Regions from separate parts of the Homo sapiens genome. Here region 2 is linked to region 1. Evidence: promoter capture Hi-C in 16 types of primary human blood cells and fetal thymus (Javierre and others, 2016). All regions are on one chromosome and are shown on one strand. The core of a region is centred on a gene start or on the middle of the fragment in contact, and the rest is flanking DNA. Distances in the headings are between cores, read along the strand shown.

The links. The method cuts DNA at HindIII sites, captures the fragments that hold promoters and counts their contacts. A CHiCAGO score of 5 or more calls a contact.
Region 2: the fragment with the promoter of CELSR2 here is called in contact with the fragment with the promoter of AMIGO1 in region 1 in 1 of 17 cell types (erythroblasts); the score reaches 5.3 in erythroblasts.

The regions. Positions count from the first base shown.
Region 1 is chr1:109,508,254-109,512,471 of GRCh38, forward strand. AMIGO1 (adhesion molecule with Ig like domain 1) reads right to left here and starts at 1,474. Exons shown (of 2, transcript NM_020703.4): 1 at 1,167-1,474; 2 at 1-746. The coding sequence starts at 659. LOC105378893 (a long non-coding RNA gene) reads right to left here. Exons shown (of 3, transcript XR_001738179.2): 3 at 2,349-2,388. RefSeq lists silencers at 1,078-1,137, 1,148-1,297, 1,358-1,477. The HindIII fragment of the contact is 14,739 bases long and covers 1-4,218 here.
Region 2 is chr1:109,248,074-109,252,138 of GRCh38, forward strand. CELSR2 (cadherin EGF LAG seven-pass G-type receptor 2) reads left to right here and starts at 1,466. Exons shown (of 34, transcript NM_001408.3): 1 at 1,466-4,065. The coding sequence starts at 2,007. RefSeq lists an enhancer at 783-1,503 and silencers at 1,505-1,564, 1,725-1,824, 2,923-3,113. The HindIII fragment of the contact is 8,037 bases long and covers 1-4,065 here.

The DNA of each region.
Region 1 (4,218 bases), core at 224-2,723:
TTATGTAGGTACAGCCCATTCTTGATCCAGGCCGGCAGCTTCTGCAGGTCAGGCAATGGCAAGTTCTTCAGCTTGTTAGAAGAGAGATCCAGGAGCGTTAGTTTGGGTAGCTTGGCTCCTTCCTTGACCAGTTCCAGAGGGAAGCGAGAGATCTGGTTCTGGCTCAAGTAGAGTTTCTGCAGCTGGGCCATGTCATCGAAGGCGCACCGGTCCACCGCCATGATGTGGTTATTGTAGAGCAGCAGCACCTCCAGTACTTGCAGGTCACTGAACAGGAACTCATCCAGTGTACGCAGCTGGTTGGAGGAGAGGTCCAGGTAGCGCAGGTTGGGTACCGGGGAAAAGGCCTCAGAGGAGATGAAGTTCAGGTGGTTGTGGCTCAGCAGCAGGGAGTGCAGTTGGGTCAGGCGCGTGGGGGTCCACTCGGCCCGCAGGCGGCTCAGGTTGTTGTGACTGAGGTCCAGTAGTGCTGTGTAACTGGGCAAGGAATGGGGCACATTGGGCAGCTGCTGCTTGGAGCAGCTGAGGATGTTGCTGGCGCACAAGCAGGCGGCAGGACAGCTAACCACGGCTCGGCCAGCTCTGGCCACCTCAAAAAGCAGCAGGGACAAGGACGGCAGCAGGAGCCAGAGGCCTCTCGGGTCACGGTGGGGGTGCATAGTGTCACTGGAGTGGGCGAGGAAGGCCACAAGGAAGATCTGGGAGGAGGTCACCCGGGCATGTTCTGGTGGGGTACGGAAGGGTCACTTGAGAGAAAGAGGATGGGTTTGTGGTCACCAAGGACTCCAGAGGGAAGGACACCCTCTCCCACTTCCCCTCCCACCCTTACCTCCACCCCCTTTGGGCTAGGAGAGAGAGATGCTGGGTAGTTTCCAGGCACTGTGCAGGCAGTGGGCTGTAAATATCGGCCGAAGAGGAGGTGGCCCGAGGGCCTACTGGGCTGGGGTCACAGGGGTGCAGGCTGCAGGTATGCACAGGATGGCAGGGACTGCTGGGAGTCACAGGGATGGCACGGGCAGGGTTTGGAGGTGGGGTCGGTGTGCCTTTTGGGAGGAGCTGAGGGAAGGTCAACAGGGCACCGGGCTGGGTAGGACGCGTCCGGTCGGGGTTGAGGGTCCCCGGGGCCTGTAGGGGCGGGCTCCCCCCGGGGCCTCCGGTCACTGCACCTGCTCGGCGAGGACGTGTCTCAGCCCATGGCCGGTCTGGGAGCTCCGTCGCGGCCTCTCCCGGCGGCGCCTCACCGGCCGGCCTGTCACTGCGCCCACCTTACGCAGGGGCCCGCGCCCGGCACCGTCGCCTCCCGGGGACTTGCGGGGCCCCGCTCCGCTCACCCTGCCACCGCCTCGACCGCTGAGCCCGCCGGAGCCCACCGACCGCGGTCGCTGCCTCCAGGTCCGCAGGCCTGGCGCGGATCGGTGCGGGGAGCCGGAGGCGCAGCGATCCCAGCGGAGGGAGCGGCGTGGGGGCAGCGAGCACCGCGCGCGCGCCCGTCGCCGCCGCCGGAGCCTCGGGGCGCGTGCGCGCGGCGGGGGCGGGGCGCACGTGCGTGTGTTTGTGTCGGAGCCGGCCGGGCGGACGCGCGCGGGGTCGTTCCCTCAACCAGCGAGCTCCGGACGCTGAGCTAAAGACGAAAATTGGCAGGAAGAGCGGCACTGGCCCCTTAGGCTCCGCTATAACTTCCTCCATCCCCCATTCCCCCATCTCCCAGCACCCTTCTCGCTACACAGACCGGCTCTCAGGAAAAGTCTAACTAAAGTGAATTCGCTGCACCTACTCGGGCAAGAGGCGTCACATGTCTTTTAATTTCGCAAATTGAAGAAATCTGGCTCAGCTCCCGCCTGCCAATGTTGGCGGGAAATTCATTAGTCACATTCTGAGGTTCCCCCTCCCTTCTCTCTGTGGCTGTGGGGTCTCAAAAATTGGGGGAGGGGTTCCCCCCACCCCACCCCCGTCTTGATGCTACTAGTTCATGACCCTTGAGGTACCACTGAAGGGCACAGCTCCTTAGCCTGCAAGCCAGCTGCGCAGGAGTGAGGGGAAAGGGGGTGTTTGGTGAGCCCAGGCCCCAGAACACCCCTTTACAGACACCTCATGCACCTCTCCCCACTCCACCTGCTACACACACACACACACACACACACACACACACACACACACACACGGACTGCATACAAGCCAGGGACAATTTCCATTCCTGGAAACTCCGAAACCCTTCCCAGCCCGGAGGAAGTCATTCAGCCCTTAGGTCTGGCCACTTGCCTTCTTCCTAAACCAGTGCCAGCTCCCCACTCCCCTTATGGAGCAATTGCAACATAGTTTCTCTGTTACCTAATCCTCAAGATGAAGGCCAGTGGTGGAGGTGGAGGGGTTTCTTCTTTAGGGTGGCCCCTGAAACAACAAGAAGCTGTTACTAGTGTATGTTGTTTGGGTTTGGGGGTGAGGAAAGAGAGAGATGCAGGAAGAGCCTAGACCTTATCATTCAAGATGTTAGCTGTTCTTGAGATGGTGGACCATAAGAAATTACCTTTTTATTTGTTCCAGTCTCTTATAACAGCAAGATCAAGACTGAAATTAATGTCTCAGTAGATTAGCTTGCTAAGAGTTTTAAAAAGAATTTATATCTGTCACATGTTTTACCATGAATTTTAGTGAATATATTATCTCTTCAAGGAGTATTAGCGTGTTAATCTTATGCATAGTGTGAAAAGGTCTTTCTGCAAGGTGCAGTGGCTCACACCTGTAATCCCAGCACTTTGGGAGGCTGCGGCAGGAGGATTGCTTGAACCCAGGAGTTCGAGAGCAGCCTGGGCAACATGGTGAGACTCTGTCTCTTAAAAAAAAAAAAGGCATGGTGGCACGCACCTGTGGTGCCCACTACTTGAGAGGCTGAGGTCGGAGGATCACTTGAGCCCTGGAGGTCAAGGCTGCAGTGAGCCATGTTTGTGTCACTGCATTCCAGCCTGGGTGACAGAGCAAGATCCTGTCTCAAAAAAAAAAAAAAAAAAGAAAGAAAGAAAGAAAGAAAGAAAGAAAGAAAGAAAGAAAGAAAGAAAGAAAAAAGAGAAAGATGTTCTGTTCTGTTCATTTCAGGCATCATTGAAAAGATGAGGAGGGTAATCTTTTTGGAGGACAAGGTGTGAAGAATCTTGAAATCACATTGCATCAGTTATCTATTGCTGCATAATCACATTACCCCAAAACTTAGTGACTTCCTACAGCAATATACATTTATTGCCTTTCACAGTGTCTGTTGGTCAGATTCAAGAGCAGTCTGGTGGACAGTTCTGGCTTGGCAGTTTCTCATGCAGTTATGCGTTAGATGGAGCTACAGTCATTAGAAGGCTTCACTGGGGCCATAGAGGCTCACTTAAATTCATGTGGCTGGCTGTTGGCAGGAAACCTCTATTCTTATCCATAAAGGTCTCTCCACAAGACAGCTTGAGTTTCCTCACAACACGGTAGCTGACTTCCCTCAGAGCAAGAGATGCAAGAGACAGCAAGACAGAAGTCACAGTGATCTGGCTCTTTGAAGTGATGGATATCACCTCCACTTTGGTCACATATGCAATTCCTGATTCAATATGGAAGAACTACACAAGGGCACAAATACCAGGAAGAGAGGATCATTGGGACCATCTTGGAGGCTGGCTATCACACACATCATCTCTGAAGTTACATCTATTTTTTAATTTTGAGAATTTTCAAACATACACAAAAGTGAATAGTACAATGAACTCCCATATACCCATCACCCATTTCAATAATTATTAAAGAAATGTCATCATTTTATTTTGTACAAATATTCCTGAGAAACATATGCTCCTCTCACCCCACCCCTCATCTGCATGTTGCATATTTTCTTTTCACCCCAGTGTTGTTCCAGGCTCTCTCCTCTCCCTTTCCTCTTTATTTTTATTTTTTAGACAGAGTTTCGCTGTTGTCACCCAGGCTGCAGTGCCGTGGCATGATCTTGGCTCACTGCAACCTCCGCCTCCTGGGTTCAAGTGGTTCTCCTGCCTCAGCCTCCCAAGTAGCTGGGATTACGGATGCCTGCTACCATGCCCAGCTAATTTTTATATTTTTAGTAATGACAGGGTTTCACCATGTTGGCCAGGCTGGTCTCGAACTCCTGACCTCAGGTAATCTGCCTGCCTCGGCCTCCCAAAGTGCTGGAATTACAGGTGTAAGCCACCATGCCCGGCCTCCCTTTCCTCTTTC
Region 2 (4,065 bases), core at 216-2,715, 260 kb before region 1:
GCTGATTTCTCATCCTTGGCCTCACTGTGTGGTCACACAGACACTCCTTGGGCCTGGGGCTGGGGGATCCTCTGCTGTGACCCAGTGAGAGTGGCACCACTGTGACCGGGGGCAGTGGTAGAAGGGAGCACCTGATCCAGTGCTTTTCAGATGGGTTCCTCCAGACCCTCAAGTTGCACAGAGCAGCCCAGGGATTTCTTGGTTGGGGGAGTGGTGGAGAGGGGCAAGGCCCTGACCCCCTCACTTCAACCCAGCAGCACTACTCATCTGTTCTATATTCTGGCCTTCCACTTCAGATTTCTTTTGAAGAAAAGAATTCTACTGCTAAATAAACATTTGAGAACCATTCACCTTATTCAATCCCCTCATTTTACAAAAAGGGACATTGAGGCACAGAATTTGAGCAAGGTCACATAGCTGTGGTGTTGGAGGCTGGGACCCAGGCCCAGGCATCCCCCCAGGCCAGGGCATCCCCCCAGGGACTACCTGACTGGGCCCCTGGCTGCTCCAGGATGTAGGGAAGCCTTTTCTGGGTCGCCTGCACGGCTCCTGCCTGGCTCTCCGTGTGGTCCAGCTTCATGTCTGGTCCTCTTGGAGAACCCCTGGAATCCTGCACACCCTCTCAAATGAAGCTGCCTTGGAGAGGGTCAGGAGCCCGGGTACCAGGTAGGCCTCCTCGCTGGTCACAAAACTGTGGCGGAAGGAGGGGGTAGCCGCAGGACATGGACAGGGAGGCAGGAGGGGATGAGAGGCCGCCTCTCTAGACAGGACCTCAGGGGGCAGTGTAAGCCCCTTGTCTAGAATCCAGGAAGCCTGTGTTAAAGCTAGGCTCCACCGCAGCCGGCCTCCGAATCTGGTGACAGTGTGTTTGCACCACCTGGCTTCCACCCACTCTGACCCTTCTAATTTACTTCCCTGGAAAAGCCCAAGTGGTGTCCAACATGAGGCTGGGGTCATTCTTCCAACAGCCCGACCCCAAGGGGCATGCTGGTCAGACAACAGCCTCGCTGGTGGGGTGGAGGGGACGGTAGGGAGCGAGTGGGCCCGGTGACTCATTGTGGGTGCTTCTCTGGGATTTTGGAGGCTTTGTTGTGTTGCTCAGGGCCCTTTTAACTCTGTCTGACCTATGGGAGGGGACAGCAACGAGGGCTTTTATGACTGGAATGAACTGGAAACTTGGCCTCTGAGAGCCCTTAAAATGTTTTGGAAACCTCTAGGCATACTTAGGGTACTTCCACCATGATTATCATCGGCTGTGTGGCTTCCGATCGCTAATTCGCACCGGGCATCTGGCGAGGCCGGCCTGGGGAAATTGGGATGGAGGGTCCTGCTGGAGGGAATCCTGGCGCTTTGGGCGGAGGAGTGCTCTGGGTGGGGCCCACCTCCTCCAGCGCGGCCGGCGTTGCCGCTTTAAGGCGGCCGCGGCGCGAGCAGGTCTATGGTAATGAGCCGCCGCCGCGACTCTGCAGAGCTCGCCCGCCCGCCGGGGAGGCGAGGGAGCGCGGGGCTGGGCCCGGGGCCGCGGCGACAGGCAGCAGCCGCGGCGGGGACGCGGGGCGCGAGCGGGCGGCGCGGGACCGTCGGGGGCCGCCGGGGCCGGGCCGGGGTCGGGGCGCACGGCTACGCGGGCGCAGGTGGGCGATCCCATAGGGGCGGAGGGGGCACCCCGGCTCCGGAACCCGGGGCCCGGCAAGGCCAGGGGCGCCGCGGGGCCCCCGGGCGCAGGTGGTGAGTGCCCGGAGCGCAGGTGGAGGCGCGGCGGCAGCCCGCGGTGCTCAGGGTGACCCGGGAGCGGGTCTGGCTCAGGGGGCAGTGGGAGCCCGGGCTCGTCGGAGGGTGCAGCGCGGGGTCCCGCCGAGCCATCCAGACGCAGGCCCCGCGGGGCGCACGGGAGGCCCCCGGGGACTGGCGCCCTGGCCCGGGCATGAGGCGCGGCGGGGCCGGCAGGAGCCGGAGGAGGAGCCGCCGCCGCCGTTGACCCGGCCGCCGGCCGGGAGCTGGGAGAGATGCGGAGCCCGGCCACCGGCGTCCCCCTCCCAACGCCGCCGCCGCCGCTGCTGCTGCTGTTGCTGCTGCTGCTGCCGCCGCCACTATTGGGAGACCAAGTGGGGCCCTGTCGTTCCTTGGGGTCCAGGGGACGAGGCTCTTCGGGGGCCTGCGCCCCCATGGGCTGGCTCTGTCCATCCTCAGCGTCGAACCTCTGGCTCTACACCAGCCGCTGCAGGGATGCGGGCACTGAGCTGACTGGCCACCTGGTACCCCACCACGATGGCCTGAGGGTTTGGTGTCCAGAATCCGAGGCCCATATTCCCCTACCACCAGCTCCTGAAGGCTGCCCCTGGAGCTGTCGCCTCCTGGGCATTGGAGGCCACCTTTCCCCACAGGGCAAGCTCACACTGCCCGAGGAGCACCCGTGCTTAAAGGCTCCACGGCTCAGATGCCAGTCCTGCAAGCTGGCACAGGCCCCCGGGCTCAGGGCAGGGGAAAGGTCACCAGAAGAGTCCCTGGGTGGGCGTCGGAAAAGGAATGTAAATACAGCCCCCCAGTTCCAGCCCCCCAGCTACCAGGCCACAGTGCCGGAGAACCAGCCAGCAGGCACCCCTGTTGCATCCCTGAGGGCCATCGACCCGGACGAGGGTGAGGCAGGTCGACTGGAGTACACCATGGATGCCCTCTTTGATAGCCGCTCCAACCAGTTCTTCTCCCTGGACCCAGTCACTGGTGCAGTAACCACAGCCGAGGAGCTGGATCGTGAGACCAAGAGCACCCACGTCTTCAGGGTCACGGCGCAGGACCACGGCATGCCCCGACGAAGTGCCCTGGCTACACTCACCATCTTGGTTACTGACACCAATGACCATGACCCTGTGTTCGAGCAGCAGGAGTACAAGGAGAGCCTCAGGGAGAACCTGGAGGTTGGCTATGAGGTGCTCACTGTCAGGGCCACGGATGGTGATGCCCCTCCCAATGCCAATATTCTGTACCGCCTGCTGGAGGGGTCTGGGGGCAGCCCCTCTGAAGTCTTTGAGATCGACCCTCGCTCTGGGGTGATCCGAACCCGTGGCCCTGTGGATCGGGAAGAGGTGGAATCCTACCAGCTGACGGTAGAGGCAAGTGACCAGGGTCGGGACCCGGGTCCTCGGAGTACCACAGCCGCTGTTTTCCTTTCTGTGGAGGATGACAATGATAATGCCCCCCAGTTTAGTGAGAAGCGCTATGTGGTCCAGGTGAGGGAGGATGTGACTCCAGGGGCCCCAGTACTCCGAGTCACAGCCTCGGATCGAGACAAGGGGAGCAATGCCGTGGTGCACTATAGCATCATGAGTGGCAATGCTCGGGGACAGTTTTATCTGGATGCCCAGACTGGAGCTCTGGATGTGGTGAGCCCTCTTGACTATGAGACGACCAAGGAGTACACCCTACGGGTGCGAGCACAGGATGGTGGCCGTCCCCCACTCTCTAATGTCTCTGGCTTGGTGACAGTACAGGTCCTGGATATCAACGACAATGCCCCCATCTTCGTCAGCACCCCTTTCCAGGCTACTGTCCTGGAGAGTGTCCCCTTAGGCTACCTGGTTCTCCATGTCCAGGCTATCGACGCTGATGCTGGTGACAATGCCCGCCTGGAATACCGCCTTGCTGGGGTGGGACATGACTTCCCCTTCACCATCAACAATGGCACAGGCTGGATCTCTGTGGCTGCTGAACTGGACCGGGAGGAAGTTGATTTCTACAGCTTTGGGGTAGAAGCTCGAGACCATGGCACTCCAGCACTCACTGCCTCGGCCAGTGTCAGCGTGACTGTCCTGGATGTCAACGACAACAATCCAACCTTTACCCAACCAGAGTACACAGTGCGGCTCAATGAGGATGCAGCTGTGGGCACCAGCGTGGTGACGGTGTCAGCTGTGGACCGTGATGCTCATAGTGTCATCACCTACCAGATCACCAGTGGCAATACTCGAAACCGCTTCTCCATCACCAGCCAAAGTGGTGGTGGGCTGGTATCCCTTGCCCTGCCACTGGACTACAAACTTGAGCGGCAGTATGTGTTGGCTGTTACCG